4 separate regions of the Homo sapiens genome follow, and regions 2, 3 and 4 are each linked to region 1. The links are contacts of gene promoters, found by promoter capture Hi-C in blood cells and fetal thymus (Javierre and others, 2016). All regions are on one chromosome and are shown on one strand. Each heading gives the region's core, a stretch centred on a gene start or on the middle of the fragment in contact. The rest is flanking DNA. Distances are from core to core; before and after follow the strand shown.

Region 1 (3,080 bases), core at 99-2,598:
GAGTCTCCCTCTGTCACCAGGCTGGAGCACAGTGGCACCATCTCGGCTCATTACAACCTCCACCTCCCAGGTTCAAGTGATTCTCCTGCCTCAGCCTCCCGAGTAGCTGGGATTACAGACAGGTGCCACCACACCCAGCTAATATTTGTATTTTTAGTAGAGACAGGGTTTCACCATGTTGGCCAGGATGGTCTGGATCTCTTGACCCCAAGTGATCCGCCCACCTCGGCCTCCCAAAGTGCTGGGATTACAGGCGTGAGCCACCGCGGCTGGCCCGACCCAAGTCTTTTGAATGAATATAAGAAGCTACTGAATCCGACCCAGGTCTTTTGAATGAATATAAGAAGCTACTGAACTCATTTTAGACCTCACATCAATGTTGTTCATGCTAGTGAAAGTCTTTCATGGTAAATCCGTACACAGAAAATACAGATACGACACACTGAGTGGATGCAGGTGAGGTATAAACAGTGACCTAGAAAGATCATGGTATCCAATAGTTCTGAGGACCGAAAAGATGGGCAGTACTTGCCCACAACATATGAATTTATGCAGTAAAAATAACATACAGCTTCTTCTTCATTTCAATAGAAATTAAAACGGGTTCAACCCTAGAGTTCCGTTTGGGAACACAAAGCACTAATTAATTATTTTGTCTCTGAAAATGACATGAGTAACTCATTATCAGAGTATGGTCAAGACTAATAAAATGGCTATCAGTCAATTAATAATACAGACATCTTCAAGGAGACTTAAAAACAACATAAAAAGGTAACTCACTTTCTTAATGGCGACAATTTGGTTGGTGTTCTTATCTCTGGCCTTGTAAACGGTGGCAAACTAGAAAGAAAAATAGAAATAACATAAGTTTATGGGAGTTTTTGTGTTTGCCTTTTTGCATTTTTACATTTCGCGAAGCAAAGAGCCCAGAGTTCCTGAGCAGACTCGCGGCGGCTGGAAACGTGGCGGGTCAGTCTCCGTCCAGCTCCAGGCTACTCTTCAGCAAGGAGAGGCCCCTCAGGGATTCACCCCCAGGATGTAAAGAATGGGCAGCAAGTGCGTCTGGACGGTTTCCCCCAACGAGAACGAGCAGCCAAGCCAGACCTCTGGCCTCCACGGGAAAACCCGCAAAGGTGGAGGCGGCGCGGGGCTGTCCGCTTGGGGCCCTCCCCGTCCTTCCAGAGAGCCTCACCTGTCCCTCCCCAAGGAAGTCCAGCTTCTCATAACGCTTTGCCCGAGACTTCACGTCCAGAGCCATCCGGCGCCGTAAAGCCCGACTCCAGCCGAAAAGGGCGAGCTCCCAGGACAACACGAATTTAAAGCTACCTTAAAGCCTCCAACACCCACTTCCGTCCACCGGGCTCCGTCGCTTTAGTATCCCCGCCTCACTTCCGTGGTGGGCGGAGGAAGCTGCGCTAGGCCCAGGCGGTTGGCGTTCCCCACCCGTCACGTGACGCCTGTCGGTGCCTGAAGTGGGGCATCTTCAATGGCTGCTGTGTCACTCTGTTGCCGTTTTAACTTGGGTGTTTTCTACATTACCAGGAACTGGTCAGCGTTCTAATTTGGTGTTCCATGTTCGGGGTTTGGTAGGTGTCTGTGAATGTAGAAAGTTTGGCCTTGTACCTGTTCTCGCTTTTTGGTTCTTGCTCGAGCGCGTCCTGTCGCCGTGGTTGCTATGGACGCCAAACCCTGCTATCTCAGATTACTGAGACGAGTGCCAAGTTCTTACGGGCTGGTCAAGAGTATTCTTAGTCCAGTCCCTTTATGAAGAAGCAGGCCCAGGAAAACAAAATCCAACTCAACTGAAACGTGCTGTGGGAATCAGCTTCTAGTCCTCAGTTTTCTACTCGGTAAAATGGAAAAAATAATGAACTACATCACAGGAGATTGTGGGTATTAAATGAAACATGCAGAAAGCTTAGACATTAACTCAATTAATTGAGACAGTGCTCAATTAACTTAGCAGTAATGAGTACCCAACCCCTTGATTATCATAAATTGTCATAACAAACACACTAATTCATTTATTCAAAAACATATTGAGTGCTTTTCCTTTTTCATTTTTCTCTCTCTTAGGATGCTGATATTGAGTGTTATCTATGTGCCAAGCACCATTGTAGAATCTGAGATAGCAGGGAGCAAAGATCCCTGCCTTCCAATGGGAGGAGATAAAAAAACAAGTCAAATATGTGTTATGATACATAGGTGATAAGTGCTATAGAGATAATAAAGCAGATAAAGGATAACAAATCAGGGCAGGGGCAGGGATGGAGGTTTTAAATAGGGTGGTACAAGAAAGTCATCACTGAAAACCCACTGGAGGGATTGGAGCAGACAAGTGATATGACCTGACTCACTTTTAAAAGGTTCACTCTTGCTGTTGGGAGACTATATTATAGATTTTGAGGGACAAGAAAAAGAAAGAAGGCCTATTAGAGAACTATTGCAGTAATCCAGATGGCTCTACTAGTGGATAATTAAAAGTTTCTGAGCCAGAGCAGCTGTCAACATGGAAATGTGCCCCCCTCCCCCTGCCTTTGTTTGTTTGTTTGTTTTTGAGACAGTCTCACTCTGTTGCTCAGGCTGGAGTACGCTGGCCCGATCTGAGCTCACTGCAACCTCTGCCTCCTGGGTTCAAGCGATTCTCCTGCCTCAGCTTCCCGATTAGCTGGGATTACTGGCCTGCTCCACCACACCCAGCTAATTTTTGTATTTTTAGTAGAGACGGGGTTTCACCTTGTTGGCCAGGCTGGTCTCAATCTCCTGACCTCAGGTGATCCACCCTCCTCGGCCTCCCAAAGTGCTGGTATTTGTAAGTGTAAGCCACTGCGCCCAGCCTATATTTGTTATTTCTAAGAGTTGAAAATCCTAAGTTTCAGAGATATGTTGAAGAAAGTAGCAAAATACCAAGGCCAATAATTTAGTTATTTTTTTTAACTCTGGAATCAGACTGCTTGCATTTGAATAGTGGCCCTATCAGTATTCAGCCACTAGATACAACTAGGGCAAATTACTTACTTTGTTTCCAGTTTCTTCATCCCTAATAGGATCTACTCAAAGGATTGTTCCAAGGCTTAAAT
Region 2 (2,927 bases), core at 1-2,500, 110 kb before region 1:
GTGAGCTGAGGTTGCAGTGAGCTGAGATTGCACAACTGCACTCCAGCCTGGGCAACACAGACAGACCCTGTCTAAAAAAAAAAAAAAAAAAAAAAAAGCAAAGAAATCTGCACATATGGGCACATTTTTAAAAATGTTTTCTTTTTAAAGTTTTTCCCCCGCGCCCCCCACCTGAAGCTGACAGTAGTTGATGGGCCATTTTTTTATTTTGAGACAGGGTCTTGCTCTGTCACCCATGTTGGAATGCCATGGCATGCTCTTTGCTCACTGCAGCCTCAATCTCCCCAGGCTCAGGTGATCCTCCCACCTCAGCCTCCAAGTAGCTGGAACTACAGATGCTCGCCAGTACACCTGGCTAATTTTTTAACTTTGTGTAGAAACAAGGTTTCACCACGTTGCCCAGCCTGGTCGGGAACTCCTGGGCTCAATGAATCCTCCTGCCTCAGTCTCCCAAAGTGTTAGCGTTACTGGCGACAGCCACCGAGCTCTGTGGCAATTTTTGATGGAAGTCCAAAGGCAAGTCAATGGGGGAAAGAATAATCTTTCAACAAGTGAAAAAATTTAGTGTCTTGGATTAGAAAAAAGATTTTTCTGATAAGACACAAAAAGCACAAACCATAAAGGGACTGATACATGGGACTTCAGCAAAATTCATAACTCTTTCTCTCTTCAAAAGACAATGTTAAGAAAATGAAAGCACAAAGAGCCAGGGCAGCAGTGCTCACCCTAGTCCAAACTACTCCCAGCTACTAGGGAGGCTGAGGTAGGAGGATCACTTGAGCCCTGGAGTTGAAGGTTGTAGTGAGGTATGACTGTGCCTGCAAATAGCTACTGCATGCCAGCCTGGGCAACATAGAAAGACTCCATCTCTACAAATTTTAAAAAAGAGAAAGAAGATGAAAGCACAAATCACAGATTGGAGAAAATGCAAAATGAATATCTGATATCAGGTGTGTATCTAGAATATGTACAGAATTATCAAAATAATAAAACAACTTGATTTAAAAAAATCAACAAAATCGGCAAACCTTAATCTAGATTAACAAAAAAGAGAAGGGAGGGGATATCACTACTGACTACGGAAATCAAATGGATTATAAAGGAAAACTATAAACAACTGTATGCCAACAAATTAGATAATTTATATTAAATGGACAAATTCCTAGAAATTCACAAACTTCTGAAACTGATTCAAGAAGAAATATAAATTATGAATAGGCCTATAACAAGAAAATATAATAAATTAGTAATTTTAAAACTTCCTACACAGAAAGGTCCAGGCACAGATGGCTTCACTGGTGATTTTTTTAAATTAATTAATTAATTTATTTATTATTATTATTTTTTAGATGGAGCTTCACTCTTGTTGCCCAGGCTGGAGTGCAATGGTGACATCTTGGCTCAGTGCAACCTCCGCGTCCCGGATTCAAGCAATTCTCCTTCTTCAGCCTCCCGAGTAGCTGGGATTACAGGCGCCCACCACCACACACAGCTAATTTTTTGTATTTTTAGTAGAGACGGGGTTTTACCTTATTGGCCAGACTTATCTTGAACTCCCAGCCTCAGGTGATCCACCCACCTTGGCCTCCCAAAGTGCTGGGATTACAGGTGTAAGCCACCACACCTGGCGATTTTTTTTATTGTTTATAAAGAAAAGAGGTTTAATTGGCTCATGGTTCCACAGGCTATATAGGAAGCATGGCTGGGGAGGCCTGAGGGAACTTATAATCATGGTAGAAGGCCAAGGAGAAGCAGGCACGTCTTACATGGCTAGAGCAGGAAGAAGAGAGAGCCACTGGTGAATTTTATTAAATGTTTAAAAAAGAGCCAATACCAATTATTTTAAAATTTCTCCCAACAAATAGAAGATAAGGGAATAATTCCCAACATATATTAAAAAGTTTACATTCAGGATGAATTGCTGTTGGCCCAGCACAGTGCCTCATGCCTGTAATCCCAGCACTTCGGGAGGCCAAGACAGGCAGATCACCTGAGGTCAGGAGTTTGAGACCAGCCTGGCCAACATGGTGAAACCCCATCTCTACTAAAAATACAAAAATCAGCCAGGGATGGTGGCAGGCGCCTGTAATCTCAGCTACTCCGGAGGCTGAGGCAGGAGAATTGCTTGAACCCGAGAGGTGGAGGTTGCAGTAAACTGAGATTGTGCCACTGCATTCTAGCCTGGGCAACAGAGCAAGACTCCATCTCAAAAAAAAAAAAAAAAAAAGATGAATTCTGTTAAGTTGAAAAATAAACAAATAAATAAGGCTGGGCATGGTGGCTCATGCCTGTAATCCCAGCACTTTGGGAGGCTGAGACAGGCAGGTCACCTGAGGTCAGGAGTTCGAGACCAGCCTGGCCAACGTGGCAAAATCCCATCTCTACTAAAAATACAAAAATTATCTGGGTGTGGTGGTGGGAGCCTGTAATCCCAGCTACTTGGGAGGCTGATCCAGGAGAATCGCTTGAATCCACGAGGTGGAGGTTGCAGTGAGCTGAGATTGCCCCACTGCACTCCAACCGGGTGACAGAATGAGACTGTGTCTCAAAAAAAAAGACCCGGCCGGGTGCAGTGGCTCATGACTTTAATCCCAGCACTTTGGGAGGCTGAGGTGGGTGGATCACGAGGTTAGGAGTTCGAGACCAGCCTGACCAACATGGTGAAACCCCGTCTCTACTAAAAATATAAAAATTAGCTGGGCCTGGTGGTGCATGCCTGTAATCCCAGCTACTCAGGAGGCTGAGGCAGGAGTATTGCTTGAACCTGAGAGGTGGAGGTTGCAGTGAGCCGAGATTGCGCCACTACACTCCAGCCTGGGCAATACAGTGAGACTCCGTCTCAAAAGAAAAGAAAAAAAGAAAAAGAAAAGAAATTAGCTGAGCATGGTGGTGCATGCCTGTAATCCCACCTACTCAGGAGGCTGAAG
Region 3 (2,955 bases), core at 181-2,680, 88 kb after region 1:
GGCCTTAGGAGGTAGAGAGAGAGAGAGATAGGGGTAGAAAGTTTATTCAAAGGGATAATAACAGAGAACTTCCCAAACCTAGAGAGAGATATCAATATTCAAGTATAAGAAGATTGTAAGGCCGGGCGTGGTGGCTCATGCCTGTAATCCCAGCACTTTGGGAGGCCGAGGCGGGCAGATCACCTAAGGTCAGGAGTTCAAGACCAGCCTGGCCAACATGGTGAAACCCTGTCTCTATTAAAAATACAAAGATTAGCTGGGCCTGGTGGCAGGCGCCTGTAATCCCAGCTATTCGGGAGGCTGAGGCAGGAGAATCACTTGAACCTGGGAGGCAGAGGTTGCAGTGAGCTGAGATCGTGCCATTGCACTCCAGCCTGGGGGACAAGAGTGAGACTTCATCTCAAAAAAAAAGAAAGAAGATTGTAGAAAAAAGAAAAAAAAGAAAAAAAAAAACCCAAAAAACAAACAAACAAAAACGAAGGTTGTAGAACCCTAAGAATTTAACCCAAAGACTACCTCAAGGCATTTAATAAACTTTGAAAGGTCAAGGATAAAGAAAGAATCCTAAAAGCAGCAAGAGAAAAGAAACAAATATTAATAACATACAATGGAGCTCCAGTTCATCTGGCAGCAGAATTTTCAGTGGAAAATTTGTAGGTCAGGAGAGAGTGGCATGACATATTTAAGTGCAGAAGGAAAAAAACCTTTTACTCTAGAAATAGTATATCCAGCAAAAGACATCCTTCAGACATGAAATAGAAATAGCCTTTCCCAAATAAACAAAAGCTGAGGGATTTCATCAACACCACACCTATCCTACAAGAAATGCTAAAGGGAGTTCTTCAGTCTAAAAGAAAAAGATGTTAATGAGCAATAAGAAATCATTTGAAGGAACTGGGTGCAGTGGCTCATGCCTGTAATCCCAGCACTGTGAGAGGCTGAAGAGAGAGGATCACTTGAGCTCAAGAGTTTGAGACCAGCCTGGGCAACATAGTGAGACCTCATCTGTACAAAAAAGTTAAAAGAGTTAGCTGGGCGTGGTGGCGCATACCTGTAGTCCCAGCTACTTGGGAGGCTGAGGTGGGAAGAATGCTTGAACCTGAGAGTTCAAGGCTGCAGTGAGCTATGATTGTGCCACTGCTCTACAGCCTGGCTGACAAAGCAAGACCCTGTCTCAGCAACAGCAACAACAACAAAAGAAATCATCTGAAGTTACAAAACTCACTGGTAATAGTAAGTACACGGAAAAATACAGAATAATATAACACTGCAATTGTGGTATGTAAACTTCTCATTTCTCAAGTAGAAAGATGAAAAGATAGACTGATCAAAAATAATAACTGCAACAAATTTTCAAGACATAGTACAGTAAGATATGACTAGAAATAGCAAAAAGTTAAAAAGTGAGGAGACAAAGCTAAAGTATAGAGTTTTCTTTCTTTCTTTTTTTTTTTTTGAGACACAGTCTTGCTCTGTCGCCCATGCTGGAGTGCAGTGGCGCCATCTCGGCTCACTGCAAGCTCCGCCTCCTGGGTTCATGCCATTCTCCTGCCTCAGCCTCCTGAATAGCTGGGACTACAGGCGTGTGCCACCACGCCTGGCTAATTTTTTGTATTTTTAGTAAAGACAGGGTTTCACCGTGTTAGTCAGGATGGTCTCGATCTCCTGACCTCGTGATCTGCCCGCCTTGGCTTCCCAAAGCGCTGGGATTACAGGCGTGAGCCACCGCGCCCGGCCCTAGTTTTCTTTTTGCTTGTTAGTTTGTTTATGTTCTGTGTTATAATCAGTTTAAAATAATGGGTTTTTAAGGTATTATTAGCATGCCTGATGCTAACCTCAAATCTAAAAGCATACAACACAAACATGAAAAGTAAAAAGCAAGAAATTCAACATATGACTAGAGAAAATCACCTTCACTAAGAGGAAGACAGGAAGGAAGAAGGAAAAGAAGACCACAAAAGATTCAGAAAATAACAAAATGGAGGAATAAGTTCTTACTTACAAATAACATTGAATGCAAATGGACTAGACTCTCTAGTCAAGACCCAGAGTGGCTGAATGGATTAAAAAAACAAGACCCAAAGATCTATTGCCTCCAAGAAACACAATTCACCTATAAAGACACCCACAGACCGAAAATAAATGGAGGGAAAAAGATATTCCATGCTAATGGAAACCAAGAAAGGGTAGGAGTAGCTATACTAATATTAGACATAACAGATTTCAAGGCAAAAACTATGAAAAGACAAAGGGCCAGGCACGGTGGCTCATGCCTGTAATCCCAACACTTTTGGAGGCCAAGGTGGGTGGATCACCTGAGATCAGGAGTTTGAGACCAGCCTGGCCAACATGGCGAAACCCCGTCTCTACTAAAAAAAATGCAAAAATTAGCCAGGCGTGGTGGTGGGCGCCTGTAATCCCAGTTACTCAGGAGGCTGAGGCAGGAGAATCACTTGAACCTGGGAGGCAGATGTTTCAGTGAGCTGAGATCGCACCACTGCACTCCAGCATGGGCGACATAGTGAGACTCTGTCTCAAAAAAAATAAAATAAAGTAAAATAAAAATAATAAAAAGAGACAAAGAAGGACATTATATAATGATAAAGGGGTCAATTCAGCAAATGATATAATAATTGTAAATATATATGTACCCAACACTGGAGCACCCATATATATATATAAAGCAAATTTTATTAGAACTGAAAAGAGAGATAGACCCCAATACAATAGTAGCTGGAGATGTCAGCACCCCACTTTCAGCATTTGACAGATCATCCAGACAAAAATACAACAAAGAAACTTTGGACTGAATCTGCACCATAGACAGTGGACGTAATAATATTTACCTAACATTTCATCTAACAGCTGCAGAATATACATTCTTCTCCTCAGCACATGCATCTTTTCAAGGACAGACCATATGTTAGGCCACAAAACAAATCTTAAAACATTCAA
Region 4 (2,802 bases), core at 200-2,699, 110 kb after region 1:
CAGGTCACAAGAATGGGAACTTATTATTTTTTTAAAAGTTGATTTATGTCTTTATTCTTGTGCAAGGACCAAACTGTTAGGTTTTTTTTTTTTTTTTTTGAGGTGGAGTCTCGCTCTGTCACCCAGGCTGAAGTGTAGTGGCGTGGTCTCGGCTCACTGCAAGCTCTGCCTCCCGGGTTCACGCCATTCTCCTGCCTCAGCCTCCCGAGTAGCTGGGACTACAGGTGCCCGCCACCACGCCCGGCTAATTTTTTGTATTTTTAGTAGAGACGGGGTTTCACCTTGTTAGCCAGGATGGTCTCGATCTAAACTGTTAGTTTTGTCACTTAATTCTGCTACTTTATAATTGCAAAGTAGGATCCTATTAATTAATTCTGTAAGTTTATGTATGTTTTCTTATTCTCAAGCGCTAACTCTTCCAAGTAAGTTCCAAATAATTTTAGAACATCCCAAACCATAAACAAAAATATCCAATGAAGGCAACTAAATTGAAATCTAAATAAAATAAAATCAACATCATTATAATAAAGAGTCTTCTCATCCAAGAAAATCTCATCCATCTATTCGGTCCCTGTTTTATATCCTTTAAGTAAAACTGTATTTTTCTCATTTATATCTTGCATATTTCTTGTTAGGTCAACTTATTAAATTTTAAATGCTACTTTATATTTCTTTTTTGGCCTCGTTTTGTTTTATTATTTATTTGGTTGTCTGTTTTACTTCCAGCAAAGACTTCAAAAATGTGATTTTCAAGGAAGAAAGTAGTGAAGAAATTACATACAGTACCTTTTCTAAAGCAATATGTAGTTCTTTTTCATATTCTGGTGGCAATCTCAGGAGTAGAACCTGGCAGGCATCTTTAATCAGTGGAACAACACTGAGAAATATTAATATAGCAATAAAAAGAGAACAGAGTGGGTCAGCGATGAACCATCCAAACTGCTCTATAAGAACTGTGGATACGATCACACCAATGCTGCCAAGTGTATCTGCCAAAACATGTAGAAATACACCTACAAATAAAATATATAAGGACATTAAAAATTAAGGCACATCTAATTTAGTTTTTTAATACATTCTACTAATATTACTGGATACCTACTGTGCACCACATACTCTGCTACTGGCTAGTACTTCAAAATGCCTAAAACATGGTCACTGCCCTCAAGGAATTCAGAATACAGTGGTAAAAATATAAGGACATAGGCACTCATGACACAGCGTGCCAAATTTTATGGTGTACTTTGTCTGGAAAGGCTTCCCAAAAATCATACTTGAGGCAAGTTTTGACATTACCCACATTACTTATATTAAGCAATCAGAATAAACAATTCAGCAAAATAAATGATTAGTACTTCCTCCATTTTTTTTATAGTGCAATAAAAATTTCTAAAAAAGGAGTAAGAATTTCCTTTTTGTAATGAAGGTTCATAATAGCACACTGTGTTTACCTTGCAACTAATATCTATTCAGCTGTCACTATGAAAAGGACTATATAATTATAATCATTTAAAAACTAACATTTAAGAACAAATATATTTTCATTTTCTTTTTGTTTTGGATAGAGTCTCACTCTGTTGCCCAGGCTGGAGTAAAGTGGCGTAATCTTGGCTCACTGCAACCTCCATCTCCCAGGTTCAAGTGATTCTCGTGTCTCAGCCTCCTGAGTAGCTGAGACTACAGGCGCCTGCCACCACACCTGGCTAAGTTATGTATTTTTAGTAGAGACAGGGTTTCACCATGTTGGAGAGACTGGTCTCGAACTCCTGACCTCAGGTGATCCACCCACCTTGGCCTCCCAAAGTGCTAGGATTACAGATGTGAGCCACTGTTCCCAGCCTCATTTTCTTTTTAAAAAATTTTCTGTGACGGCCAGGCATGGTGGCTCACACCTGTAAGCGATTCTTCTGCCTCGGCCTCCTGAGTAGCTGGGATTACAAGCACCTGCCACCATGTCCGGCTAATTTTTGTATTTTTAGTAGGCACAGGGTTTCACCATATTGGCCAGGCTGGTCTTGAACTCCTGTCCTCAGGTGGTACTCCCGCCTCAGCCTCCCAAATTGCTGGGATTAACAGGCGTGAACCACCATGCTCCCAGCCAGAATGTCCCTCTTTTTAAAGGCTGAATAATATTTAATTTTATGTGTATTCAGGTAAGAATATTTTCTATAGTGATAGCTTCAGACCTTTCTTTTAGTCACAGATTGCTTTTTAAAAATCATATCATACCAGAAGCCCAAAACTTAATACAAATAAACACAGAGGGTTGATTTAGAACACAGTTGAAAAGTAGGATAATATTTTGCAAGGACTCACCCCTCATGTTAGCATTCATGCCTCCACCCGCAGATCCGTGGCTGTGACCATGCCCATGGTCACTGTGTCCATGCATATGGTGTGAATGGCTGTGATCAGATGAGTGACAGCTTCCTTGAGAAGCTCCATGGGCATGGCTATGGGCATGGCTAAAGGCACAGATACCAATAAGGTTTACTATCAGCCCTCCAACTGAGACTGGCTAGCAAAAGGGAGAAAAAAAACCTTTAAATTAGTAATTTAAAAATAGACTTGTTATTTAAAAGTTATTATATAGCTATATATGTTTTTCTGTTTACAGTTTTGAAAGTATTCACAGTAAAACCTTACTAAGTTTCAGTAAGTCCAAAATTTTAAAAATGTGAATTTTAGAACATTTTAGAAGAAACATTTTAACTTTCAAATATCAAGCAGAATTGGTAAGTAGAGGAATTTGGACTTATTTCAATTAAGAATGGTATGTACTTGGTTTATGGTTTATGTATA

What was found. The method cuts DNA at HindIII sites, captures the fragments that hold promoters and counts their contacts. A CHiCAGO score of 5 or more calls a contact.
Region 2: a fragment that was not itself captured here is called in contact with the fragment with the promoter of CDK7 in region 1 in 15 of 17 cell types (neutrophils, erythroblasts, non-activated CD4 T cells and 12 more); the score reaches 17.0 in neutrophils.
Region 3: a contact is called between a fragment that was not itself captured here and the fragment with the promoter of CDK7 in region 1, in 1 of 17 cell types (monocytes). The highest score is 5.1, in monocytes.
Region 4: a fragment that was not itself captured here is called in contact with the fragment with the promoter of CDK7 in region 1 in 7 of 17 cell types (neutrophils, naive CD8 T cells, monocytes and 4 more); the score reaches 12.5 in neutrophils.

Annotation. Positions count from the first base shown.
Region 1 is chr5:69,233,154-69,236,233 of GRCh38, reverse strand. CDK7 (cyclin dependent kinase 7) reads right to left here and starts at 1,348. Exons shown (of 12, transcript NM_001799.4): 1 at 1,193-1,348; 2 at 781-840. The coding sequence starts at 1,258. RefSeq lists an enhancer at 1,098-1,626. The HindIII fragment of the contact is 18,686 bases long and covers 1-1,919 here.
Region 2 is chr5:69,343,579-69,346,505 of GRCh38, reverse strand. No RefSeq gene overlaps it. Among named protein-coding and RNA genes, the nearest start is that of CCDC125, 12 kb to the right of the region's middle. The HindIII fragment of the contact is 4,249 bases long and covers 1-2,927 here.
Region 3 is chr5:69,145,066-69,148,020 of GRCh38, reverse strand. No RefSeq gene overlaps it. Among named protein-coding and RNA genes, the nearest start is that of SNORA50D, 14 kb to the left of the region's middle. The HindIII fragment of the contact is 5,026 bases long and covers 1-2,955 here.
Region 4 is chr5:69,121,410-69,124,211 of GRCh38, reverse strand. SLC30A5 (solute carrier family 30 member 5) reads right to left here. Exons shown (of 16, transcript NM_022902.5): 13 at 2,317-2,518; 14 at 787-1,013. Among named protein-coding and RNA genes, the nearest start is that of SLC30A5, 29 kb to the right of the region's middle. The HindIII fragment of the contact is 7,248 bases long and covers 1-2,802 here.